Linked DNA regions of Homo sapiens: regions 2 and 3 are each linked to region 1. The links are contacts of gene promoters, found by promoter capture Hi-C in blood cells and fetal thymus (Javierre and others, 2016). All regions are on one chromosome and are shown on one strand. The core of a region is centred on a gene start or on the middle of the fragment in contact, and the rest is flanking DNA. Distances in the headings are between cores, read along the strand shown. Region 1 holds the start of FARP1 (FERM, ARH/RhoGEF and pleckstrin domain protein 1). Region 2 overlaps FARP1 (FERM, ARH/RhoGEF and pleckstrin domain protein 1). Region 3 overlaps FARP1 (FERM, ARH/RhoGEF and pleckstrin domain protein 1).

Region 1 (4,676 bases), core at 1,105-3,604:
GTCTGGCTACAGAGTAAAGTTAACATTCTATTATGAAGCAAGGAATAAATCCATCCCTGTATCAATTAAAGGAAGAGAATATCAATGTGAAAGGGGGCATTAGAAACCACGCTTCAAAAGGATTCCCACAGTGACAGAACTTCTCAATGAAACACCACACCCCAAGTAACGGGGGCGGGGTGGTGCACCATAGAATCTGCCCCTAGGAGGCACAGCCACCTCCACACCGAGGGTTTCCAGTTTCCCATTCACATAAAAGAAACAAGTAAGAGATTCTGGGAGGCGCTGGGCTAGGAAGGCATCTACTCACTGTCTCCACCAACAATTCCCTCAGTAAAGCAGCCATTGCCCAATAATGCTTCTATTTATTTTACCCAGAAGCAGATCTATTAGCCAGACATTCTAAAAACACAAACGCTTCGTTGTGCTTGGAGTAACTCCAATATTGATGCCTTGCTGCAGAACGATGCTGCAGGAATATAAAGTGAGCCATGTGCTAGCTGTACCCACTTATGAAGCACACTGTCAGAAACTGTCACATCCTGGAGACCAACCCATCCGAAAGACTGAGAATAAACCCCCTACGAGAACACTGTGGAAGGAGGGAGAAAGCCAAAGATAGGATGAAGCAGGGCCCTCCTAAAGTCTCCGGAACAACGAAGCCAATTTTTAAGGCAACTCTCCCTAAAGCTTTCAGGACCAGAAAGATGTTTCTTTCTCCTCTCCTTGTTCAGACTGAATAAGAAAAGCAAGACAATGCTGGAGGATGTTCTGAAATGGGCTCCGCAAGTCACCACGTGCAAAGCACATTAAACAGAAGCCAGTGCTAGGCCAGGGTTTGGCTCTGAAGATGTTGCCTACTGGAAGGAGAGGGGCCCCCGGGGGTTTCCACGCAGAGACCAGGGCTGGGCGGTCAAACCTGGTAAACTGACAAGGAGAAGAGCCTTAACAACAATATAATGAAACGGCCAGAGGCCACCGGTACTCCCCAGGGCTGGGAGAGACAGGGAGGCCGAGGCTGCTAAACTGTTCCAGATGACAAGCAGGCTCTCCCACGTCTCCACGAACTGATCAGATACCAGGGCCTCGCTTCTTTGTGAGCCTCAGCTCCCTCCTTTCTGGGGAACCCTACTCGATCCCCAACAGCCGCTGGCCTCCAGCTGCCACAAACGAGATCCAGACTCATTACAGGGAATTCGTATTTCCCCCCCTCAAATAAAACACACACACACACACACACACACAGAGTCTCCGGGGTCCAGCCGGATCACACAGCTAAAGTTTCCGGAACTTGAATCGTAAAACCACAATCAGAAGTTGTTTGGAAATACTCGCCGCAAAGCAATCTGTCCTTTGCTTTAAAAAATAAAAAATAAAAAAAACTTTGCCCTGCATAAAGGCAGACAGTAAAGAGAGACACAAATCTAACTTGGGCAGAGGGTGTGTTCCTCTTTGTCACCCGCCGGGAACCCTCGCGCCGCGCGTGGGCGAGCGGCGGGCACCCGGCGGCATCCGCGCCAGCGGCCACCTCCCCGGCCCGCAACCGGCCTCAGGGGCCGAGATTGCGGCCCGAGGTCCGGAAGCGGCGTCCAGCGCTGTCAGCGGGCGGGTAGGACGGAAGGAAACGGGGGAAGGGCGCCGGGGTCGGGGGAGGCGAGCGGGGACCGGCGCGGAGCCCCGCAGCCCGACGTCGGCGGAGGTGAGGGGAGAGGGGCGCAGGGGGCAGCCCGGAGCCCCGAGGCCCCCGAGCTCCTGCGATGGTGGCCGGGGCTGCCCGGGCCCGACCCGCCGCCCGACTGCGCAGGGCAGGACCTCGGGGACCACGCGCCCACCTTCGCCCGCAGCCGCGGCCGTGCGCTGCGGGAGCCTGGACTCGCACAAGTTGCCGCCCGCGGCCCGGACCCCGCCGGCCCCCGCCCTCCCGCCGCGGTCATTGTTCACCGCGCGCCTCCTACCTCCACAGCGCCGGCGGCTGCGGCGGCTCCCTCTCCCGGCTCGGGCTCCGGGATCGGCGGCTCCCAAGCCCCCGGCGGCCGAGGGCGCGGCGGCGCCGGCTATTAATACCCGCGGGCGGCGGCGGCGCGGGCGCGCGAGCAGGGCTGGCGGTGGCCGGCTGAGGTCCGAGCCATCAAAGGTGGCGCGGGGCGGAGGGGAGGGCGGAGCAGGCGGGGTGGGTGGGGAGCGGGCTCCGGGTCGCCATGGCCGCCTCGACGCCGGGGCCAGCGCTACTCGCGCAGGGAGGAGCGGCGCAAAGCGGGCAGCGGCCGCGTCCCCGCCCCGCGCCCCAGCCGAGCGCCCGCACCGCTGCGCCCGCGCCGGACCCGCCGCCTCTGAGGCCGGCGAGCGGGAAGTGCAGTGGCCACCGCCCCTCCCCGGGTCTGGGCCGGCCCCTCGGCGGGGGGAGGCGGGCGCCGCGCAGCCCGAGCAGCGGGGACGCGGGAGAGCCACAGCCCCCTCCAGCGTCCGGGCCCGCGCCCTGCGCCCGCCCCGCCCCGCTCCGCTCCGCCCGGGCAGGTGCGCCCAGGGGCCTCCCGAGCCCAGCGCGCCGCCGGGGATCTGCGCCTCTCTTGGGCTTCCGGCCAGGGCCGGGCTCCGCGCGGCGCTACCTAATGCAGCGCGGGGAGCGCCACTGGCGAGACGCGAATCCAGCAGCTGTGGCGAAAAACGAACCGGGGAGAGCGGGAGACGTGTGCACGGCGAAGCCGGGAGCGGCAGGCGGGCGGTCAGGGGCTCGGACTCTGCAGGTCGCTTTTTGAGGTCCTGCCTGGGGCTGCTTCGCCTGCGACGTCGCGCGGGGAGGACAGTCTTCAGGGACCCACCGAGCCCTCCCCTCCCCCGGAGCCACAGGCACGGGCTTCCGGCACCACCCCGGGCTGCGCGGGACTTAAGCTTGGGGGAGCGGCGGCCACCCCGCGCCCGCCCACGTCCTGGCCCAGCGCCCTCCGCCCGAGCGAATCCCATGACAGTTCCCGCCCGCCCAGCCTCGGGGGACAGTGCCCTTGGGGAATGGCGTGGGGGAGGTTAGGAGTGGCTTGCGGTGCTTGAGAGCCTTCGGGGTTTCGGGAACTCTACGGAGCGGGGAGCAAGATTCAGGACCCAGGAGGCAGCGATCTAGGGGCACAGTCACCGTCCCCACCCAGCAGCTGCCGCGTTACCTTCTCTTCCCCCTTCTGAGCCTCCAGTCCCTCTCTCTAAGCGTGGCGGGAAGAGGCCTAGGGCGCAGCAAGTGACGTTCTGCCAGACCCGGGGCTAGCGGATTCCGGCCTTCGGAGGCCACTGGCTCAGAACCGTGGGCCTTTTGCGTCTTACAGGAGTTCCCTGACCTCAGACCGAGAGGGCAGATTTCACGGGAGAGGCCTCAAGTGAACTCACAGCTGGACAGGAGCTGGGCAGAAGTGGAGTGTAGGGACCCTGATAGAAGGGCGGGTTGAGACAAGAACAGGGGTCTTGGAAGTAGGGGGTGCTTGTGGGCAGCTCCTGGGGAGGAGCAGAGATGTAATACTTGCAGATTTGGTGGTCTGTGGTTGAAGAGAAGAAATGGTGGGTTTGAGGCTTTGCTCTGTCAGCCCAACCAGCTGTGTGTCACAGATCAGATTTTTTTCTGCTCGTGATTCTCTAAGTGTGGTTCTCAGACCACGACCACCACCAGCAGCCCCTGGAAACGTCAAGAAATGAACATTCTTGGGCCGCATCCCCGACCTACCTAATGAAACCTTAGCAAGCATCTGAATCGCCTGCAGGGATAAAGGACTGTCAGGCTCCATCCCCAGAGCTGCCGATTCAGTAGGTTTGGGGTGGGGCCTGAGAGTTTGCATTTCTAACAAATTCCCAGATAGTGATGTTGCTCTGGTCCTGGGATCACACTTGGAGGATCACAGTGTTAGGACAGTGGGTCTCAAACTCATGGAATCATCTGCGATTAAAAAACAACACCCTGGTTGCACCCCAGCCAAATATATAAAGATTCTAACCCAGGCATCAGTAAAGTTCCGCAGGTGATTCCAGTGTGTAGCCAGGTTTGAGAACAGTTGCTGTAGGCGGCTTTTTAAACTCTAGTGTATACCTGAATCACCAGGGAATCTTGTTGGAATGCAGATTCTGATTCAGTAAGTCTGAGACTGTTTCTAACAAGCTCTCAGGTGTTACTTGCTGGTCCAAGGACTACACGTAGTAGCAAAGTGCTATGTCATACCTCCCAACTAAAAGGAAAAAATTAGGCCGGGCGCGGTGGCTCACTCCTGTAATCCCAATACTTTGGGAGGCTGAGGCAGGTGGATCACCTGAGGTCAGGAACTTGTAAACCAGCCTGGCCAGCATGGGGAAACCTCGTCTCTACTGAAAATACAAAAATTAGCTGGGCGTGGTGGTGCGCGCCTGCAATCCCAGCTACTCGGGAGGCTGAGGCATGAGAATTGCTTGAACCCGGGAGGCAGAGGTTGCAGTGAGCCGAGATCGTGCCATTGCACTCCAGCCTGGGCAACAAAGTGAGACTCCATCTCAAAAAAAAAATCATAAAAATAATAAAAGCAAAAAATCATAGAAAGCGCAGAAAATTAGAAAAGTGACATTTTCCCAGTCACTCTCTTTGCAAGACCGACATTTTCTACATGTTACAGCATTTCTTTCATAGTCTTTGTATGTCTAGAATTAGATTTAGTTGTGATCTTAAAACTATT
Region 2 (4,676 bases), core at 1,507-4,006, 250 kb before region 1:
TGGTTCAAGGGGGTTTTACCATGTCTGTAACGAGAGCTGCAAATAAAAGAAGAAAAAACAACCCCAGAAACAAATGTGTCCAACTGTTAATGGCCGTTAATTCTAAGTAGTAGGAATCTGGGTGTTTGCTGACTTCCCTGTACTTTATTGTAATTTTTAAATGTATGAAAATGAAAAAAGTTTTTTAAAAACGCTACATGCAGTAACTAGTTCTTGAGGCCTATCCTCCGCTCCTTTACCCTCCTTGGGTTCTGCTGCTCCTCCTTGGAGCATTGGGCTTGGGAGCTGGCTGGCTGGCCAGAAACTGCTTAGCAGCTATGAGACCTGGACTAGTTATTTAACCTACTGGGGACTCAGTATCTCCATCTTTATAAAGGGAATAAAAGAGCACTGACCTCACAGAGCTGAGGTGAAGACTCAATGAGTTCACTCAGGCCCAGTGCTCGGAACAGCCTGGCACACACTAAGGGCTACAAGTGTTTGATAACACCAACAACAATAATAATAATAAATCCTGTTTCTGGCTGGGCATGGTGACTCTTGCCTGTAATCCCAGCACTTTGGGAGGCCAAGGCGGGAAGATGGCTTGAGCCCAGGAGTTTGAGACCAGCCCTGGCAACATAGGCAGACCCCATCTCTACAAAAATTTAGCTGGGAGTGGTGGTGGGCACCTGTGGTCCCAGCTACTCAGGAGGCTGAGGTGGGAGGATTGATCGAGTCCCAGAGGCTGAGGCTGCAGTGGGCTGTGATCACACCACTGCACTCCAGCCTGGGCAACAGAGCAAGACCCTGTTTTGAGAAAGAAAAAATCCTGTTTCTGCTCATCCAGATTTACTTGATTTAATTAAAATGTTCATAGACATGCTTTCAATACAAATCCCAAAATATTGAAGGACTCACCAGTGAGCTAGTTTTTATCATGCTTCATCCCCCACTGTGATGTCCTAAGCCCTTCTCTCCTTCCCCAGTATGTCCTCTCCCGCCTCCCCTAGTCCTTTCTGTCTGTTCTCATCTCACTCTCGAGGGTGTGCCCCTGGGCTCTAAAACCTTCCTCTCTAACACTGGACTTGCTGAGGATGACTGAGACTATCATTTACAACTCAAGGGACATCAAGTCTGAAGTCTGGGTAAAGAAATATTTAGCAGCAACAAACTGTTACCTGGCGAGTCTGAGCCTTCTCAGACTGGAAGTAGCATTGAAGCTTCTCTTACCTTTCAAACTGCACCTTCTTATGTCCTCCTTCTTTAACATAGTCGAGAACCTGCTTCTGAGTCCGACCACTGAAACAGAGACCACAACAGGGAAGGGGAGAAATACCAAGGCATTCTCATTTAAACACACAAATGATGCTTCAGGGCTTCACTTCCCCTCCTTCCCTAACTGGGAGAGATGCAGGGTTGCTTGGCTAGCCAGGACTAAAAGCAATCCTGACAGACTCTGTATTTTTGGGTCCACTCAGTCTCTTGATATTTTCCTTGAATATACAGAAAAAATGTTCAATTAACTAAGCCCACTTGATAACTGTGTTTGGTTACTAAGCAACCATCCCAAGAGCCTGTGCCTTTAGTGAAGGCAGGGATCACTGGGCTCAGTGCCTGGAACAGTATTTGACACATGGCAGACAATGATTTGTTAAAAATGAATGGAAAAGTTCACCAATAACATCCAAGTCCACATATTCTATGAAGCAACACCAAATGTTAGTAAGACACTGTACTTCTACTGAGAGAGAAATCCTTTCTGAGTTAGAGACTCCCGCTAGGCGTTTACCATGACTGGGTGGCTTTGCCTGGTGCCTCTGCTGTTCAAACAGAGCCCACTGGGATTAAGATACAAGCGCCCCCGCTTGGCCATAGCTCCTGGAGGCCAATGAGCGTTCACCTCCCTGACCTGCTGTGTGTCACAGCGGCTGTGAGAGGCGGGAGGAAAAACGTGCACCCAGCAAACAGAGGCACAAAGTGGCGACCTCACCTGAACCGAAATGATGACCCCCGGCTAAAGAGGACGGGCTTGGGCTTTGGTTTGGGCTCTTCAAAAAGTCTAAAGAAGGCATGATGTTCAACACAGATTTTCCAGAAGGACTTGCAGAAATCCCGACTGGCCATCAGGAATTCCAAGGTATCCTGGTACGCACTCTAAAAAGGGAAAATACAACGGTGGTTTTTTCCATTACCCATAGATACACCACTGAAATAGGAGAAAAGGGGCAGAAGATAGCTTTGTCCGATAAAGTTTTCGCTGTGTATTTTATTATAGCATGACCATCAGTGCAAAGACTTACTAAACTCTAGTTATTCTTAAGGACAAGATGTGGTCCCTAGTCCATCATTTTCTTCCCCACAGAATCTCTTAGACGGGTAACAGAAACAGCCACGTGGCTTCAATGGAAGTGACACCATTTTTTGACAGATTTCATATACAAATTATGTTTATTTGGCTTACATTTCCTTGAAAAACAAAACCCAGATACTGAAAGTCCCTTCCTGCCTCCTTAAAATCACTGAAACGCAACGTTCATCCTCTTCCTCATACTTCGTGTCAATGTTGGCTCTTACGTCGTTTCTCTGTGAAGTCGCCCACGGCTCCGGGCTCCAGGCCACCCCAGGAACTACACAGGAAATGAATTTTTTTTTCTGGAGCACAAAGTGTCACTCTTGGCTGAAAAAAATCATGCCCTTTGATTCTGGAAAGGGGATATAGAAATTTTCTGCTCCCAATTGAAGTGGCCATATTATATAAACAAAAGTTACTACTGTCCTTAGCATTCCCAGCAGTTCTAACTATTTTGGGGGATCTCACAGTTTTGGGTGGACCCAACTTACAAACAAGCTGTGCTGCAGTTCTTTATCTATAAGGCAGCTTTTTGGAACTCCAGTGAATTTTTCCATGGAAAACCATTTAAAATGGGTATATGCTTCCCAGGTCGGGCCATGAAAACCTACTGAACCCAGACTGTAGCTACACTATAAGCCTAATTGCCATTTATCATCTTCTTTGCCATGGGAAAAAGAACTCTACACGCTGGTTGGGGACAGACGCCCAGGACACATCACCCACCTCCTCCGTCGCCATTTCTGGCAGACAAAGAAGAGGCTTCTCCTCCCTTCCCGTCCCAGTCCTGGCGTGGGCCACAGTGTTAGGCGTGTTGTGGGAAGTAAGTGGGGAAGGGAACCTAATTAGCCCATGAAAATGAGTTCCACTGGGGGCTCAGGGCCTCCAGCAGGGATTGGGGAAGTCAGTCTATGCCTGGGGTAGGGCAGGATACTGAATGGGGTCTCCAGGTGTAGCCTGGGGCTGGATGCACAGCAATAGCACAGCTCAGGTTGTTTATCAGGAGGGGCTGCCTGAATCTGCGCAGGGAAATGACCCTCTCCCCAGGTACATGTTCATGTACCTCCTTTACGCTCTCTGTTTACCAACGATGACAGCCGTAGAGTTACCGACCATTTGGATACATCTGTCCTAGAGACGCTCGGCGTTCATGTGGACAAAAGCACCTGGGTAGCACTGGCCAGAGGTTCAGCAGAAGCCCTGCCAAGCAGACCTCCACCCCTTGCAGGACACACGCCATCCCATGGCTCAACGGGTCCCCTTTCCCGCCAGGACCACTTACATTGGCATCTGGCCGGAGCTTGATGAGAAAGCGCTTCCTCTTGAAGCTCAGCTTCCGCACCTTGGCCCAGTTGAAGGCATTGATCTTAGTGAAACCCTAAAAAGAAAGACAGTAGCAGTGAGCCAGGAAATGCATAACAAGCAACTTGGGAGTTGGTCTGTTTTGCTTATGGGAGCTAAAGGAAGAGGGCTGGCAGGCGACTGCTCAGTAGAGATGACTTTTGCAGAGAACTCACAGGATCTGTGGCTATCGGATGATACCTGTTCCTGGATCATTATTTCTCACTAATTATAGGATTTTGGCATACAAACTAAGTCTGCCTCTAGGGAGAGAAGAAACTAGCCAAGATAATGATGAAAAGAAAGATAAATAGAAATAAAAACCATGACAACCACCACAATCATTAGCTGCCAGGACTTAGGAAGCGCCAGGTACCATCCTGAGGGCTTTATATACTGTATCTTAACAACCCTGATATGATAAAACCCAGCAAGATGGACTTACTATTTTCATTTTATACACATGGAAACTGCAACGTGGATTTATTTTAATTTGCTGCAAATGACACGTTTAATGTGGCAGAAAGAGACTTCCAAGCACACGCCTTCCTGGCAGCTATGGTTAACATTCAGCAGGTTTGCAATCAACTCCCTGCTTCATCCACGCTGGTCTGGCTCCTGGGCCCATCAAGCTTCCAACAGCACCGGTAGAACTGAGGATGGGAGGCCAGGCCTGCTGTGTGTCTTCAAGGCCAGCACAGTCTCTGGGCCGGATTCACATGTCTTCATTGTCTTTGGCAGCCAGGGAGTCATTGTCTCCATCCAAGGTGGAGAAACAACGGGGAGCTGCCGGATACCAACTCCCATCTGCCCAGTCTCAGCTGAAATTAGAATTCCTCTGGAGCCCACTGGAACACCAGGCCTGTTCATTTAACGTGGCAAGAATGAAGCAATAGGGCACTGGCAAGAAGGTGGGTTCCGAGACACAGGCTTTGCACGTGACTACATTACCCAGGTATTCCCAATACTTAGGGATTGTGTCAAACACAATCAAAGCACATTA
Region 3 (4,676 bases), core at 880-3,379, 210 kb before region 1:
ATGCTCTCTGGATGACTGTAACAGCAGATCAGCATTCCCGAAGAAAATATTACTAAACTTGAAGACCTAACAATAGAAATAATCCAAAATGAAACACACACAAAATTTAAAAAGCAACAAAACTGTAGAACACTTTAAGCAGCCTAATGTACAGTAAGTCCTCACCATTGTCAATACATTCTCAGAAAACTGCTACTATAAGCAAAAGGAAGGATAACAACAAAGGATATAAAATGAAGTCATCAAAAAATTTCAATTGAAAGGAAGGCAGATAAAAGGAACAAAAGATGATGGCTAGACAAAAAGAAAACAAACAGCAAGGTGTTCAATTTAAACTATATCAATAATCACATTAAATGTAAATGGTCTAACCCCTCCACCCCCCATTAAAAGGCAAGGATTGTTAGTCTGGATTAAAAAAGAAAAAAGCAAGTATATGCTGCCTACAAAAATACACTGCTAATGTAAAGACACAAATAAGTTAAACAAAAAAGGGTGAAAGTACACCATACTAAAAAATAATAATTTAAAAACTGAAGTGGCTATATTAGTGTTGGGCAATGCAGATGTCAGAATAAAGAATATTGCTGGGGATTTAAAAAAGGGTAATTTCTTGGCCGGGCTCAGTGGCTCATGCCTAATCCCAGCACTTTGGGAGGCTGAGGCAGGTGGATTACCTGAGGTCAGGAGTTCGCGACCAGCCTGGCCAACATGGTGAAACTCTGTCTCTACTAAAAATACAAAAATTAGCCGGGCGTGGTGGCGGGCACCTATAGTCCCAGTTAGGAGGCTGAGGCAGGAGAATCACTGGAACCTGGAAGGCAGAGGTTGCAGTGAGCTGAGATTGTGCCACTACACTCTAGCCTGGGCAACAGAGCGAGGCTGTCTCAAAAATAAATAAATAAATAAATAAATAAATAAATAAAATTTTAAAAGGGTAATTTCTTAATGATAATGGAGTCACTTAGTCAAGAGCACGAAACAATCTTAAATATTTATACACTTAATAACAATTTTAAAATACATGATTAGGAAACTGATGAGACTGCAAGGAGAAACAGTCATGCACCGCATAGTGACATTTCAGTCAAGAACAGGCGCATAATACGTCAGTGGTATATATCATAATCCTGTATTTTTTACTGTACCTTTTTTAGTTTAGAAACACAAATACTTACCATTATAATTGCCTATTGTATTCAGTTCAGTAATATGCTATAGAGACAACCGTACTTACACCACCTGTTTGTGTAAGTACACTCTGTGATGTCCGCACAATGAAATTGCCTAAAAACACATTTCTCAGAACATATAGCCATCGTTAAGTGACGCATGACTGTAGAAAAATCAACAATTATAATTACAGAGATTTTTAATATTTATTTCTCAATATTAGTATGTAGGCAGAAAATAAATAATAGATTTGAACAACGTAACCTCATTGAAATATATTGAATATCCTACCCAACACAGAACATACAGTCTTTTCCAAGTGCATGTAAAACACTTGCCAACATAAGACATATTCGGGACCATAAAACAAGTATCAGTAAATTACTTTAAAAGCTTCATGTCATATGAACTATGATTTCTGACCACTATGGAATTCAATAATAAAGCAACAATTGAAGAATTTGTGAAAAATCTCCCATAGATTTAGAAATGAAATACCATACTTTTAAATAAAGAAGAAACCAAGGGGAAATGGGAAAGTATTGAAAATGAAAACACAATTTGTGGATGCCACAAAGAAATCAACCTTTGTGGGATGCCACAAAAAAACCCTATTAATTTTAAAAATAATCTATTACAATTTAAACATATGTAATCTAGAAAATTAGATAATTCAAATACGGAAAATTTTTAAAAATATGTTTTTCACCATTAGGAGATCATCATTAACACTTTAGGGAAGTGGTTCTCAAAGTTGAGCATGTATTAAAATTGCCCTAAGTAAGGGCTTGTTGAAACGTACACCACTGGGCCCTGTTCCCAGAGTTCCTAATCTGGGATGCGGCCCTGAGAATGTGCATTCCTAGCCAGTTCTCAGGTGATGTGGATGCTGCTTGTTGGTCTGTGGACCATGCTTTAAGAACCACTGCCTTAGTACATACATTTCCATATCTCTCATTATATGTGATGTGTATGAATATAAACATTCATATACTTTTTAAAAACCAAAATGAGATTTTTTATTTTTTTGAGACAGGGTCTTATTCTGTCACCCAGGCTGGAGTACAGTGGCTCGATCTTGGCTCAATGAAACCTCTACCTTCTGGGTTCAAGTGATCCTCTTGCCTCAGCCCCCTCAAGTAGCTAGGACTACAGGTGTGAGCCACCATGCCTGGCTAGTTTTTGTATTTTTTGTAGAGGGGTTTCACCATGTTTCTCAGGCTGGTCTTACACTCCTGAGCTCAAGTGATCCACATGCCTCAGCCACCCAAAGCGCTAGGATTACAGGCATGAGACATCTTGCCTGGTCACCAAAATAAAATTTTAAAAATGGTTTCATATTTTATCTAACCCCATCTGTGCAGAATATTACCAATTAAATATGTAATCAGTATAAAAACATGATTAATGAGATATTTTGCTTTCTTTGCTACTCTTTGGAATTCCACACCTATTTCATACTTAGATTACATTTCAATTTGCACTAGCTATGTTTCAAGTGCTTATTACCTAAAGCTTAAGAACTTTGGATAAATGAAAATATAATTTTGTCTAAGACTTCTTTCCCTCTACATAATGTAGTATACCATAGTCTGTTTAACAATTCTTCTCTTGATGGCACATGTGCGATTTCCAGTTTGGAGTTATGAATAAAACTGCAAAGAATATTTTTATACTTATTTTTATGGACATAAGCTTTCATTTCTCTTACGTAAATACTTAGGAGTAGAACTGCTGTGTCAAAAAAATTAGTGTATATTTAGTTTAATAAGAATCCTACCAGACTCTTTTCAAAATTGTTTTATCAGCTACTTCTTTTTTCAAAGATTTGTACCTCTCCATTTTGTAAACTTTCCTCTCATCAAATACTCAGGCAATATTCAAATTCCTCCAATTAACTAAAGAACGTCCTTATTGGTGATCTGTCAAAACTAACGTCCAAACCAAGACCATGTTTCATATCTGGTTATGTCCTCTAAGTCTCTTTTCATCTATCCTACTACCTCTCCCTACCTTCCCTTTTTGACAACACTAATCTGGTGAAGGGAATCTGTGTTTAATAAAATTTGAACTGAAAATCGTAGAATATGGTTTTACGTATTTACCAAAAAAGCTTTAAATGAAAAAGAAATTAAAGACAGATCTGCAAACCAAACTACAAAATCAAATGTAGTACAGGCTATCCCTATGCACTTGTGTACTGAACTCATTAAGTAGGAGTTGGTATTAGAGATATATGTGAAGGGAAGCTTTGGAATCAAACCAAGACAATATTACAATGCAATGTGTGGGGTTTCAGGGAGCCTGGACTTGGAGGGAAGCTTTAATATCTACAATCTTTACTTCTTAACCAGGATTCAGCAGACCTCAGGCATGGTCCTTGCAAAACATCAATTACTCAGTTTAAACTATTTTTAAATCATTTGTTTAATTTTCATTAGCTTCGAATGACTCATTTCAAAAGATTTCACATGGGTGTTATGGTTAATTGAACTCTTAAAAATTGTGGTAAGAAGAGTTAACATGAGATCTACCCTCTCAAAATTTTAAGCATGCAACACAGTGTTAACTATAGATAAAATGCTATACAACCCTTTAAACTATCATTTGCTTATTCTGCTGTATACCTTTTTCCTTTTCAACCTTTAAAAAATATTTAATATTAAAATAAACAGATGCTTAAAACTACAAAAAGCAGGCCGGGTGTGGTGGCTCATGCCTATAATCCTAGCACTTTGGGAGGCCGAGGCAGGTGGATCACCTGAGGTCAGGAGTTCGAGACCAGCCTGACCAACATGGAGAAACCCCATCTCTACTAAAAATACAAAATTAGCTGGGCATGGTTGCACATGCCTGTGATCCTAGCTACTCGGGAGGCTGAGACAGGAGGATCACTTGAACCTGGGAGGCGGAGGTTGCAGTGAGCCGAGATTGCACCATTCCACTCCAGCCTGGGCAACAAGAGTGAAACTCTGTTTCAAAAAGTAATAATAATAATACTGCACAAAGCAAATGTACAGCTTAGTGAATTATTAGATGGTAAACACCCTTGTATCTATCAACCAAGTCAAGAAATCAAACTCTGCTGGTCAACTCCTTCCAAACTGAACTCCCGCCCTCTACAGGTAACCACTATGCAGAGTTTCATCGTAACTGCATAAGTCTGTAATGTGTTATTTTGCCACATGGTGCATCTTTATACGCCAGAGTTTAGTCTTAAGACTAAACCACTCTAGCCTTGAGACTCATGAATGGCTTCGCACCATCCCCTTGGGTAATAAATATGTTTTCACTCAGAGTTCATGGGAGATCTGGTTAAAAGTGTGTGGTGCCCCCACCCCCAAATTGCTTAGTCTTTATAGTCTTAAGACTAAACTCTGGTGTATAAAGATGCACGATGTGGTGAAATAAAACATTACAAACATATGCAGTTACTCTGAAACTCTGCATGGAGGTTACTTGTAGAGGGCAGGAGTTTATATTGTTTAATCTATAGCTTCCTC

Evidence for each region. Contacts are between HindIII fragments. The CHiCAGO score rates a contact against its expected background, and 5 or more counts as called.
Region 2: a fragment that was not itself captured here is called in contact with the fragment with the promoter of FARP1 in region 1 in 1 of 17 cell types (endothelial precursors); the score reaches 5.4 in endothelial precursors.
Region 3: a fragment that was not itself captured here is called in contact with the fragment with the promoter of FARP1 in region 1 in 1 of 17 cell types (endothelial precursors); the score reaches 5.9 in endothelial precursors.

The regions. Positions count from the first base shown.
Region 1 is chr13:98,140,772-98,145,447 of GRCh38, reverse strand. FARP1 (FERM, ARH/RhoGEF and pleckstrin domain protein 1) reads right to left here and starts at 2,354. Exons shown (of 27, transcript NM_005766.4): 1 at 1,956-2,354. LOC105370328 (a long non-coding RNA gene) reads left to right here and starts at 1,538. Exons shown (of 3, transcript XR_931670.4): 1 at 1,538-1,609. RefSeq lists silencers at 2,304-2,613, 2,854-2,903. The HindIII fragment of the contact is 2,199 bases long and covers 693-2,891 here.
Region 2 is chr13:98,387,417-98,392,092 of GRCh38, reverse strand. It overlaps FARP1 (FERM, ARH/RhoGEF and pleckstrin domain protein 1), which reads right to left. Exons shown (of 27, transcript NM_005766.4): 9 at 3,615-3,710; 10 at 1,973-2,136; 11 at 1,213-1,281. Among named protein-coding and RNA genes, the nearest start is that of FARP1-AS1, 46 kb to the left of the region's middle. The HindIII fragment of the contact is 3,103 bases long and covers 1,205-4,307 here.
Region 3 is chr13:98,352,872-98,357,547 of GRCh38, reverse strand. All of the region lies in intron 3 of FARP1 (FERM, ARH/RhoGEF and pleckstrin domain protein 1), which reads right to left. Among named protein-coding and RNA genes, the nearest start is that of FARP1-AS1, 81 kb to the left of the region's middle. The HindIII fragment of the contact is 1,122 bases long and covers 1,569-2,690 here.